4 separate regions of the Homo sapiens genome follow, and all the other regions are linked to region 2. Evidence: promoter capture Hi-C in 16 types of primary human blood cells and fetal thymus (Javierre and others, 2016). All regions are on one chromosome and are shown on one strand. The core of a region is centred on a gene start or on the middle of the fragment in contact, and the rest is flanking DNA. Distances in the headings are between cores, read along the strand shown. Region 1 overlaps GINS3 (GINS complex subunit 3). Region 2 holds the start of AKTIP (AKT interacting protein). Region 3 overlaps CFAP20 (cilia and flagella associated protein 20). Region 4 overlaps TENT4B (terminal nucleotidyltransferase 4B).

What was found. The method cuts DNA at HindIII sites, captures the fragments that hold promoters and counts their contacts. A CHiCAGO score of 5 or more calls a contact.
Region 1: a contact is called between a fragment that was not itself captured here and the fragment with the promoter of AKTIP in region 2, in 1 of 17 cell types (naive CD4 T cells). The highest score is 5.0, in naive CD4 T cells.
Region 3: a contact is called between a fragment that was not itself captured here and the fragment with the promoter of AKTIP in region 2, in 1 of 17 cell types (monocytes). The highest score is 5.8, in monocytes.
Region 4: a fragment that was not itself captured here is called in contact with the fragment with the promoter of AKTIP in region 2 in 1 of 17 cell types (naive CD8 T cells); the score reaches 7.3 in naive CD8 T cells.

The regions. Positions count from the first base shown.
Region 1 is chr16:58,395,421-58,398,120 of GRCh38, reverse strand. All of the region lies in intron 1 of GINS3 (GINS complex subunit 3), which reads right to left. Among named protein-coding and RNA genes, the nearest start is that of GINS3, 4.3 kb to the right of the region's middle. RefSeq lists an enhancer at 2,183-2,700. The HindIII fragment of the contact is 6,974 bases long and covers 1-2,700 here.
Region 2 is chr16:53,501,695-53,504,473 of GRCh38, reverse strand. AKTIP (AKT interacting protein) reads left to right here and starts at 1,265. Exons shown (of 10, transcript NM_022476.4): 1 at 1,265-1,327. It overlaps LOC124903690 (a long non-coding RNA gene), which reads right to left and starts at 94. Exons shown (of 2, transcript XR_007065069.1): 1 at 54-94. RefSeq lists silencers at 98-187, 908-1,147, 1,168-1,237, 1,498-1,797 and enhancers at 508-607, 1,068-1,567, 1,568-2,069. The HindIII fragment of the contact is 2,307 bases long and covers 800-2,779 here.
Region 3 is chr16:58,123,900-58,126,838 of GRCh38, reverse strand. The region is part of intron 1 of CFAP20 (cilia and flagella associated protein 20); the gene reads left to right. Among named protein-coding and RNA genes, the nearest start is that of CFAP20, 4.0 kb to the left of the region's middle. The HindIII fragment of the contact is 2,351 bases long and covers 443-2,793 here.
Region 4 is chr16:50,156,760-50,159,555 of GRCh38, reverse strand. The region is part of intron 1 of TENT4B (terminal nucleotidyltransferase 4B); the gene reads right to left. Among named protein-coding and RNA genes, the nearest start is that of TENT4B, 4.9 kb to the right of the region's middle. The HindIII fragment of the contact is 5,097 bases long and covers 1-2,796 here.

The DNA of each region.
Region 1 (2,700 bases), core at 84-2,583, 4.9 Mb before region 2:
CAAATAAAGTAGAAGGAAAGAACTAATTAAAAAATTAATGACCTAAAAAACAAAGGTACAAAAGAGAAAACCAACAGAGTCCTAAGTTAGTTCTTTTAAAAGAATAAAAAAATTGATAGACTCCTGGCAAGGGTAATCAAGAAAGGGAGAACACAATTTATTGATATTAAAAATAAAAATAAGGACACCACTGTAATCCTACTGACATTAAAAAGATAGTAAAGGAAATTCTGAACATTGTACTGATACCATTGAAAATTTAGACAAGCTCTCCCTCTCCCTTTCCCTCTCCCTCTCCCCACGGTCTCCCTCTCCCTCTCTTTCCACGGTCTCCCTCTGATGCCGAGCCGAAGCTGGACTGTACTGCTGCCATCTCGGCTCACTGCAACCTCCCTGCCTGATTCTCCTGCCTCAGCCTGCCGAGTGCCTGTGATTGCAGGCGCGCGCCGCCACGCCTGACTGGTTTTCGTATTTTTTTGGTGGAGACGGGGTTTCGCTGTGTTGGCCGGGCTGGTCTCCAGCTCCTAACCGCGAGTGATCCGCCAGCCTCAGCCTCCCGAGGTGCCGGGATGGCAGACGGAGTCACGTTCACTCAGTGCTCAATGGTGCCCAGGCTGGAGTGCAGTGGCGTGATCTCGGCTCGATACAACCTCCACCTCCCAGCTGCCTGCCTTGGCCCCCCAAAGTGCCGAGATTGCAGCCTCTGCCCGGCTGCCACCCCGTCTGGGAAGTGAGGAGCCTCTCTGCCTGGCTGCCCAGTCTGGAAAGTGAGGAGCGTCTCTGCCCGGCCGCCATCCCATCTAGGAAGTGAGGAGCGTCTCTGCCCGGCCGCCCATCGTCTGAGATGTGGGGAGTGCCTCTGCCCTGCTGCCCCGTCTGGGATGTGAGGAGCATCTCTGCCCGGCCGCCCCGTCTGAGAAGTGAGGAGACCCTCTGCCTGGCAACCACCCCGTCTGAGAAGTGAGGAGCCCCTCCGCCCGGCAGCTACACCGTCTGGGAAGTGAGGAGCGTCTCCGCCCGGCAGCCACCCCATCCAGGAGGGAGGTGGGGGTCAGCCCCCCGCCCGGCCAGCCGCCCTGTCCGGAAGGGAGGTGGGGGGGTCAGCCCCCCGCCCAGCCAGCCGCCCTCTCCTGGAGGTGAGGGGCGCCTCTGCCCGGCCACCCCTACTGGGATGTGAGGAGCACCTCTGCCCGGCCAGCCGCCCCGTCCGGGAAGGAGGTGGGGGGGTCAGCCCCCCGCCCGGCCAGCCGCCCCGTCCGGGAGGTGAGGGGCGCCTCTGCCCGGCCGCCCCTACTGGGAAGTGAGGAGCCCCTCTGCCCGGCCAGCCGCCCTGTCCGGGAAGGAGGTGGGGGGGTCAGCCCCCCGCCCGGCCAGCCGCCCCGTCCGGGAGGGAGGTGGGGAGGTCAGCCCCCCGCCCGGCCAGCCGCCCCGTCCGGGAGGGAGGTCGGGGGGTCAGCCCACCGCCCGGCCAGCCGCCCCGTCCGGGAAGGGAGGTGGGGGGATCAGCCCCCCGCCCGGCCAGCCGCCCCGTCCGGGAGGGAGGTGGGGGGGATCAGCCCCCGCCCGACCAGCCGCCCCGTCCGGGAGGGAGGTGGGGGGGTCAGCCCCCGCCCGGCCAGCCTCCCCGTCCGGGAGGTGAGGGGCGCCTCTGCCCGGCCGCCCCTACTGGGAAGTGAGGAGCCCCTCTGCCCAGCCAGCCGCCCCGTCCGGGAGGGAGGTGGGGGGGTCAGCCCCCTGCCCGGCCAGCCGCCCCATCCGGGAGGTGAGGGGCGCCTCTGCCCGGCCGCCCCTACTGGTAAGTGAGGAGCCCCTCTGCCCGGCCAGCCGCCCCGTCCGGGAGGGAGGTGGGGGAGTCAGCCCCCCACCCGGCCAGCCGCCCCGTCTGGGAGGTGAGGGGCGCCTCTGCCCGGCCGCCCCTACTGGTAAGTGAGGAGCCCCTCTGCCCGGCCAGCCGCCCCGTCCAAGAGGGAGGTGGGGGGGTCAGCCCCCCACCCAGCCAGCCGCCCCGTCCGGGAGGGAGGTGGGGGAGTCAGCCCCCCGCCCGGCCAGCCGCCCCGTCCGGGAGGTGAGGGGCGCCTCTGCCCGGCCGCCCCTACTGGAAAGTGAGGAGCCCCTCTGCCCAGCCAGCCGCCCTGTCCGGGAGGGAGGTGGGGGGGCCAGCCCCCCGCCCAGCCAGCCGCCCCGTCCGGGAGGTGAGGGGCACCTCTGCCCGGCCGCCCCTACTGGGAAGTGAGGAGCCCCTCTGCCCGGCCACCACCCCGTCTGGGAGGTGTACTCAACAGCTCATTGAGAACGGGCCAGGATGACAATGGCGGCTTTGTGGAATAGAAAGGGGGGAAAGGTGGGGAAAAGATTGAGAAATCGGATGGTTGCTGTGTCTGTGTAGAAACAAGTAGACGTGGGAGACTTTTCATTTTGTTCTGTACTAAGAAAAATTCTTCTGCCTTGGGATCCTGTTGATCTGTGACCTTACCCCCAACCCTGTGCTCTCTGAAACATATGCTGTGTCCACTCAGGGGTTGAATGGATTAAGGGTGGTGCAAGATGTGCTTTGTTAAACAGATGCTTGAAGGCAGCATGCTCGTTAAGAGTCATCACCACTCCCTAATCTCAAGTACCCAGGGACACAAACACTGCGGAAGGCCGCAGGGTCCTCTGCCTAGGAAAACCAGAGACCTTTGTTCACTTGTTTATCTGCTT
Region 2 (2,779 bases), core at 16-2,515:
TTGGGATTAACATCAGGAGAATTTGGCTTCCTGCCCTTTAATAAGTCACTTACCAGAATCTCAGAGGCAACCAAAAATGGACCAAACAACCCGGCCAGAGAATGCGGCTTCTGAGTGTAAGACACTGAGGCGGTGTCACAGACAGGTCAGTGCCTCTGGTGTCTAGAAAAGGGGCAGGGGCTTGCGGGGAGAGGGCTGTCGCGCAAGTGTGGAAGTGGAGTGCCGAGATTGGACGGACTAACCACGGGGAGGCACCGTTGGTAAGAACAGGCCTGGAAAGCAGCTGGCAGCAGTCACAGAATTAGGCCAGAGAGAGACCTCCATGGGAAAGCAGACGGGAGGTCCAAATGAGAGCGTGTGAATTAAAAAAAAAAAAAAAAAAAAAGACCAGGAACTATGTTGCTATGGGAGAGGTTCTCCAACTTCAGTGTGCGCCAGAATCAGCAGCGAACTGTGACAGATGTGGATTCCTGGTCCTCAGCCTCCCCCCTCCCCCCAGCCCCCGGCCCCCACTCGGATGCTGCAGGTCGGGGCCGACACACACAGATTTACAAAGCTCCTCTGGCTGCTCTAGTGCCCAGGGCCCACTTGGAGCTGAGCTCCCTTCAGCTCCAGCCTTCAGCTCCTGCACTGATGGAGAGAACGGGCGTTTCTTGATGCCACGCCAAGTGTCCTTCTGACCCCTGGTACCCTGTGGGCCCGACGTGGCGGCCTCGGGCCTCGCAGCGCCGCCCAACGCAGTAGGACCTAGCGATGGGAGCCACTGGGCAGTCGCGCGGCCCGGCCCTCCCCAAAAGCTTGGCTTGCAGACGTTAGCGTATGCCCCAGCCCCTGCGCATGGCGGTTGCGCTGTGGGCTGTGCGAATAAACCTCCGGGAAGGTCTCCGTGGTGACTGGCAGACGCCCTGGCCAATTGTGACCCGGCGCTTGTTTGTCTCTGCCCCATCCCTCCCCGGGGGGCCGATACTTCCATGACTGACAGGCCGTCCCAGGCGCTGTTACGTAAGGGGAGGGTCAAGTGCAGTCCCACCCAAACCGGGGTGATTTGATTTGCAGGACCGAGTGTGTTCTTCCCAACGCCCCCGGAAGAACGTCTTTGACGGGCAGGTGTGAGAGCCAGTTGGCGCCGGGAGGCCAGGCGGAAGCCTCGGGCCCCAGGATCGTGCAGCAGGGGGCGGAGCCCGCTGCCGAGGGCAGGGCAGGGCAGGGCAGGGCGGGGTGGGGCGGGGCGGGGATCAAGCAGGGGCAGGGCTGGCGCTGCGGCGGGAGATGCTGTCGGGCCGCGGCGGCGCTTGGCAGCCAGGAGCTCTGCATTGAAGGCACTGGGGTGAGGCTTACTGCCCGGCAGGCTGGTGGGTACGCGAGGGCTGAGGTGTCTGTAAATCTGGCCGCCAGCCTCCACGGGCCCGGCATTTGTCCATCTTTCTAGGCGCTCGCGACTCGGCGACGGCGGCCGCAGTGGGACACGGAGGCGGGGCCGGGCACCTGTGCGCGTTTGCAGGCACCTGCTGCGCTGGCCGCCTCGCAGCCCGGGACTGCTGCTGGGGACTGCGGCTGGAGCTGGGCTGGCCCGGCCCGAGGGAGAGGGGGGCCCAGCTGGCTCGCCCCGGCCCGTGCCCGCCCTCCCCGGCCGGGTCCCGACCCCGAGCTCTGGTTAAGGGGGCGTCGCCGGGCCCCAGAGCCCCCCCACTGGAGGGGCCCGCGGCTCCCGGGCCAGCATCGAGCTAGCTGCGAGGCCAGGACAGGGCCCCCGCCTTGCATCACCTCGAGACAGGTTTGTCCAGATTCCCTGAGTGCTCAGAGACGGGTTTCCGCCCGCGGTGAGGGTGCCGGTCCGAGGCCGCCGCGGGTCCCGGCTGTCCCCAGCGAGCCTGGCCCGGGCCGTTTTCATCTTTTTTTTTCTGGCCCCTGCTCTGTCTCCTCTTAACGTGTAATTTCTTAAGTCCGATTCGGGGTGATGTGAGTGCGCTGTGGCATGTAGAGTAACAGCAGCACTCATGTTTTAGCCTAGTTTTAGCTCTGCCACGCACTGTCATTCGCGCAGGCTGAAGACCCAGACTTCTCAGCTGGGTGATGTAAAGGAATGCAGCCGTGGCCAAACAGGCAGAAATTCTAAAATTGTTTCCAAGTGACAAGGATGTAACATGTCTTGCTTCCATCTATGTCATTCCTCTCAGAACATGTATGCTGTGCTTGTCCTAGACTAGACCCTGAAAAGTGTGCTACAGTTTCTCGTGATTATGTTGCTGCTGGAAACATTGGATTAAAAGATCCATAGCAAAGTTAGGCAGCAGAAGACAATACCTCCTGCTTAATGACAGGCAGAACTGGGGACAAAATTTACTGGATTCTTAAAGAGAATCCTAACGCGTTAGACCTTTAAGAGACTTTACAGGTTTGCACCAGCCCATTAAATGTATGTTGTGGAGCACACCACTGTGTCCCAAGGGATCCGGTCCCGTGTTAGGTGTGTCCTAGAGGACACTGGGGTGCTGCACATTACTGCTAGATCTGAAAATCAGTGTCTTCATTTGAGCCAAAGGGGAACATGCCCCCGCACATTTTTGATATCTCAAGTATATTCAGTGTGTCATACTCACCTTTAAAGGCAGATTTGCGGAGAACTGTTGTTACTTATTGCATGTTATCCATGCTAGTAGAAGAGCCAGGATCTTCATTCCTCTGATTTAATTACTGGGTGGCATTTTCTCTTGGAAAACAAAACAGCAGTAATGGGCACTGGCAAGGTATGGATGACCTGGGTTGGGTACGTCCCTGG
Region 3 (2,939 bases), core at 369-2,868, 4.6 Mb before region 2:
TCTCAGCTATGTCTGCATAAAGTGCTGGAAATTCAATCCAGTAGGGGGAACACTGGGAATTGATGTACTTATCAAAGATTTATTGAGCGACAGCTTAGTGACAGGCTTTGTGTAGACTTGGGAAGATAGAGAAAATATTTTTCCTGCTGCCAGGGACTAAGGCAAAGTTGTAATAAGGACAGAGTTTGTGGGGAGGTGAGGACTGTCTACATTTAGCTAGACATGACCTTGACTTTTGCCAGTAGGTATATATTGACTGTGGTACCTATTTATAGTTATTTTTATTTCAGAAAACTTTGTTGTTTTCTTTCATGAGTATATATAGAGAGAATTTCTGTTCGGTTTCTATGAAGAATCTTGAGAAATTTGGTTTGACTTTTGTTTAGGCTCTGTCTGCATAGAAGTGAACGCTGTATTCACAGTACCAGTGAATTTGCAAGCTTCCCTTTTGTGAAGATGGCTTGTTCGTTAGTGTTTGTCACACCGGCAATTTATTTGACTCTCTGAAGCTCACAGCCCCTCCCCTCCATCTCATCCTTCCAATCTCAACTTAAACATTCTTTTCATTGAGAACTTGAGTTAAGCCTCATGGGTGTGCCTGTGGCTGGCAGTTTTCTATTGTAGATCGTCCACTGGACTGCAGGTTCCTTAAGCAGAAGAACAGTACCTTACCGAAAAACCTCAATGCTAGGGCGTGGTCAGACACCTTGGATTTGCATCCTGGCTGTGCTGTGTTCCAGTTGTGTGATCTTAGCTATGTCCTTAACCATTCAGTTTTCTCGTCTATTTCTCACGGTTATGAAGATTCAATGAAGCTGTATATAAAGTCCTTAGCAACAGAGTTACAGTATATGTAGTCATGCACCACATGATGGCGTTTCAGTCAACGACAGACCTTACACATGACAGTGGTGCCATAAGATTATCATGGAGCTGAAAAATTCCTGTCGCTTAGTGACATAATAGTTGTTCGTTAAGTCAAATGCATTACTCGTGTTTGTGAGTAGGTGTAAACCAACCTACTGCACTGCCAGTCATGTAAAAGTATAGCATATACAATGATGTTCAGTGCCTAACACTTGATGATAAATGACTATGTTACTGGCTTATGTATTTACTATACTCTTTATCATTATTTTATTGTATTTTATTTTTCTGAGACAAGGTCTTGCTGTTGCCCAGGCTGGAATGCAGTAGTGCAATCAGGGCTCACTGCAGTCTCCATCTCCTGGGCTCAAGCAATCCTCCCACCTCAACCTCCCAAGTAGCTGGGACTACAGGCCCTCACCACCACACCTCACTAATTTTTGTATTTTTGTAGAGACGGGGTTTCTCCATGTTGCCCAGGCTGGTCTTGAATTCCTATGCTCAAGCAGTCCTCCTGCCTCAGCCTCCCAAAGTGCTAGAATTACAAGCATGAGTTCCCGTGCCTGGCCTTATCATAATTTTAGAATGTACTCCTACTTAACAACAAGAACAAAAAGTTAACTGTAAAATAACCTTAGGCAGGTCCTTCAGGAGATATTTCAGAAGAAGGCAGTGTTGTCATAGGAGATGACAGCGCCATGTGCGTTATTGCTCTTGCAGACCTTCCAGTGGGACAGCATGTGGAGGTGGAGACTGTGATTGATGTTAATGATCCTGACCCTGTGCGGGCCTGGGCTCATGTGTGTGTTTGTGTCTTAGTTTTTAACAAAAAAGTTTAAAAAGTTAAAAAAAGAAATAGGAAAAACCTTATGGAATAAAGATATATAGAAAGAAAATATTTTTGTGCAGTTGAACATTGTGTTTTAAGCTAAGTGTTATTACAAAATAGTCTAAAAGTTTTTAAAATTTTTAAAGTTTATAAAGTAAAAAAGTTCCAGTAAGCCAAGGTTAATTTATTATTGATGAAAGAAAAATATTTTTAATAAATTTAGTGTAGTCTGGCCAGGCACAGTGGCTCATGCCTGTAATCCCAGCACTAACTAAATAACTAAAGCACAGTGGCTCATGCCTGTAATCCCAGCACTAACTAAATAACTAAATAAAATAAATGTATTGTAGCATAAGTGTATTGTGTTTACAAAGTGTTCAGTAATGTCCTAGGCCTTCACATTCACTCACCACTCACTCACTGACTCAACCCAGAGCAACTTCCAGTCCTGCATGCTCCACTCATGGCCAGTGCCCTATCCAGTTGTGTCACTTTTTATCGTTTATACAGTACTGTACCTTTTCTATGTTTAGACACACAAATACGTACCATTATGTTACAGTTGCCTACAGTATTCAGTACAGTAGTATGCTGTACAGATTGTAGCCTAGGGGCAATAGGCTATACCATATGGCCCGGGTGTGTAGGATGTTGTACTGTCTAAGTCTGTGTAAGTACACTCTGATATTCACACAGCCATGGAACTGCCTAATGAGGCATTTCTCAGAACGTAATCCCATCCTTAAGCAATGCATGACTGTAGTTAGTACTTTATAAGTAATGACATACAGAATTAAATATGGCAGGGACTGAGGAATTTGCTCAAAACTAAAATAAGATGTTTGAACTTAGCCCACCATCCAGATTTCTAGGAATAGGAAGTACTGTAAAACCAGACTCCTGAAATGAGAAGAATTTAGTTGTTGCACCGTGGCTCGCCCAGCCCTAAGCCCTTAATGTGGCTCTAAGGCCACATAACCCATGCTCTGGCACCTGCTTCACTTGTTCTCCAGGCGGGACTCACTTCACCCGGTTCCCCCTCTTAGTAGTAGCCTCCTACTGAATTGAAGGAAGTCCTGTTCTCTCACCTTCAAGCTTTTGCACTTCCTGGTCCTTCTGCTGGGCGCTGCCCCTCACCACCCCACAAGCCTCACTCCCATCTTTTCATTAGGCTCCAGTCACAGTTCAAAGGCCTTTCTCAGAGTGACCTTCCTTAACTCTTCAGGGTAAGTTAATTTACTTC
Region 4 (2,796 bases), core at 70-2,569, 3.3 Mb after region 2:
GAAATAAGCAGAGAGAGGCCGGGCGCGGTGGCTCATGCCTGTAATCCCAGCACTTTGGGCGGCCGAGGCAGGTAGATCACCTGATGTTGGGAGTTTGACACCAGCCTGACCAACATGGAGAAACCCCATCTCTACTAAAGATACAAAATTAGGCATGGTGGCACATGCCTGTAATCCCAGCTACTTGGGAGGCTGAGGCAGGAGAATTGCTTGAACCCGGGAGTCAGAGGTTGCAATGAGCCAAGATCGCGCCACTGCACTCCAACCTGGGCAACACAAGTGAAACTCCGTCTAAAAAAAAAAAAAAAACAGAAAGAGAGAGAGAGGGAGGGAGCGAGAGCGAGAGAGAGAGAGAAAGAGAAGCAGATATAAGCCCTAATGCAGTGCTGAAAAAAGGCATGAACATCTTGGGCTTACTATGACATGATGAACAATGGGCACTAGAGGATGGCACATACAAGAGGATACTGCCCTACGGCAGTGAAGAGCACTACATCTCAGCCCTCCAAATCTCAGCTCCCCACTAGCAGGTCCACCTATACATCCCCCTACTATCTTCTTACCCAAACCAATAGTCCTTCTGGCCCTTATTTCCAAAAACACCACAAATATTTCCCCAGTCACTCAAGTTCAAAGCTACAGTGTGATTATTAAATCCACTTAAGGAATCTGAATCATCTCCATCCTTACCCTGTAATACCTCTCACATTCATTCTCCCTTCACATCCCCATTCCCACCATCCTAGTTTAAGAAATTGTACCTTAAACCCAAGTTTCCCAACAAGGTCTTGATGTCCCCACAGCCAAATTTGTACTCCAAAACATTGTTTTGAACAAGTCATCCAAGCCTTAAAAAAGCATCTACAGATCTGGCAGTACAGCCAACAGAAACCTATCATGAGCTTGGACAAACACCAAGCACCTTCCAGAAGAAGTTTCTGGACCCAGGGCTCAAGACCAAGTTCTGCAAATTCCCTGTATTTGCTACTTCTTGCCATCCCCTCTTTCTCCATAGTGATAAACAATTAAGTCTTTCAAAAGAAAAGGGTTTATGGCTCGTTTTCATGGACAAGCAGCAGCAGGTGGACAGCATCCTAAACCATGGCCAGTTCTGGAGGGGAGCAAAGCCCAAGAGAATCAGTGGAAGCAACTTAAAACATAAAAGGCCAGGCCAGGCATGGTGGCTCATGCCTGTAATCCTGACACTTTGGGAAGCCAAGGTGGGCAGATCACTTGAGGTCAGAAGTTCGAAACCAGTCTGGCCAACATGGTGAGACCCCATCTCTACTAAAAATACAAAAATTACCTGGGCATGGTGGCGGGCGCCTGTAATCCCAGTTACTCGGGAGGCTGAGGCAGGAGAATTGCTCGAACCTGGGAGACGGAGGTTGCAGTGGGCCAAGATTGTGCCACCACACTCCAGCCTGGGCAAGAGAGCAAGACTCCCTCTCATTAATTCATTCATTCATTCATAATTAAATAAATAAATAAGGCCAGGCATGGTGGCTCACACCTGTAATCCCAACATTTTGCTAGGCGGAGGCGGGAGGATCACTTGGACCAGGAGTTGGAGACCTTCATGGGCAACATGACAAGACCCCATCTTTACAAAAAAAACCAAAATGAGCCAGGCATGGTGGCACTCGCCTGTAGTCCCAACTACTCAGGAGGCTGAGGTGGGAAGTTCACTTCAGCCTGGGAGGCCAAGGCTGCTGTGACCCATGATTATGACACTGCACTCCAGCCTGAGCGACAGAGCAAGACCCTGTCTCAAAAAAAATTAAAAAAATAAATTTAGGCCAGGCACAGTGGCTCACACCTGTAATCCCAGCACACTGGGAGGCCAAGGCATGTGGATGGCTTGAGCCCAGGCAAAGGCTGCAGTGAGCCGAGATCACACCACTGCACTCCAGCCTGGGCAACAGAGCGAGACCCTGTCTCCATAAAATTAAATTAAAATTTAAAAATAATAAAACACAAAATAAAAAAATGTTTTAAAAAGCAAACAAAATCCCTGGTCTGTGGGTACATGAAGAAGTCTGAGATGATGAGCTCAAGAGTTTTATTTTGAAGACTTTAGGATGAAATCCAATATCTTACTCTACATATTAAAGAAATGTCCATGTCATGTGTAAGAGGGAACACATAATAAAAGGAAAGTTAAACATAAGTGGGCTATACCAAGAGCATGAAGTGAGTACCTTTGAGAGTTCAGAGGAGAAACCAAAAACATCAAGGACTTAGGCAATGCAAGAGGTCAGCATTCTAAATAAATCAACCAATTTGGTGGAAGCAGAGAACACAAAAGACAGCTGCGAGAGACTATATAGCTGTCCCATGGTTCTAGTCCATTTTCACATGCTTTCTGGTCTCCTCTCCCCATCTGGACTATCAGTTCAGAGGCCAAGAACCACCACAATGTGTTAACCTATTAGCTAACTATCAGTCACATCTTAAGAATTCAGAAAACAATGGTAACAGTTTTAGTATATTTAATCTCAGAACAGCATAACATCGAGGTGCACTCTGAATTCAGATTTTTTTAAATACCTATATTAAAAATAGAAAAACTTTCTAAAGTTAAGAAATAAGGATACTGGCGAGAATGGTGGCTCATGCCTATAATCCCAGCACTCTGTGAGGCCAAGGTGGGAGGACTGCTTGAGGCCGGTTGAAGACCAGCCTAGGCAACAAATGGAGGCCCCATCTCTACAAAAAGTAAAAATAAAAAAATTAGGCAGGTGTGGTGACATGTGCCTGTAGTCCCAGCTACTCCAGGAAGCTAAGGCAGGAGGA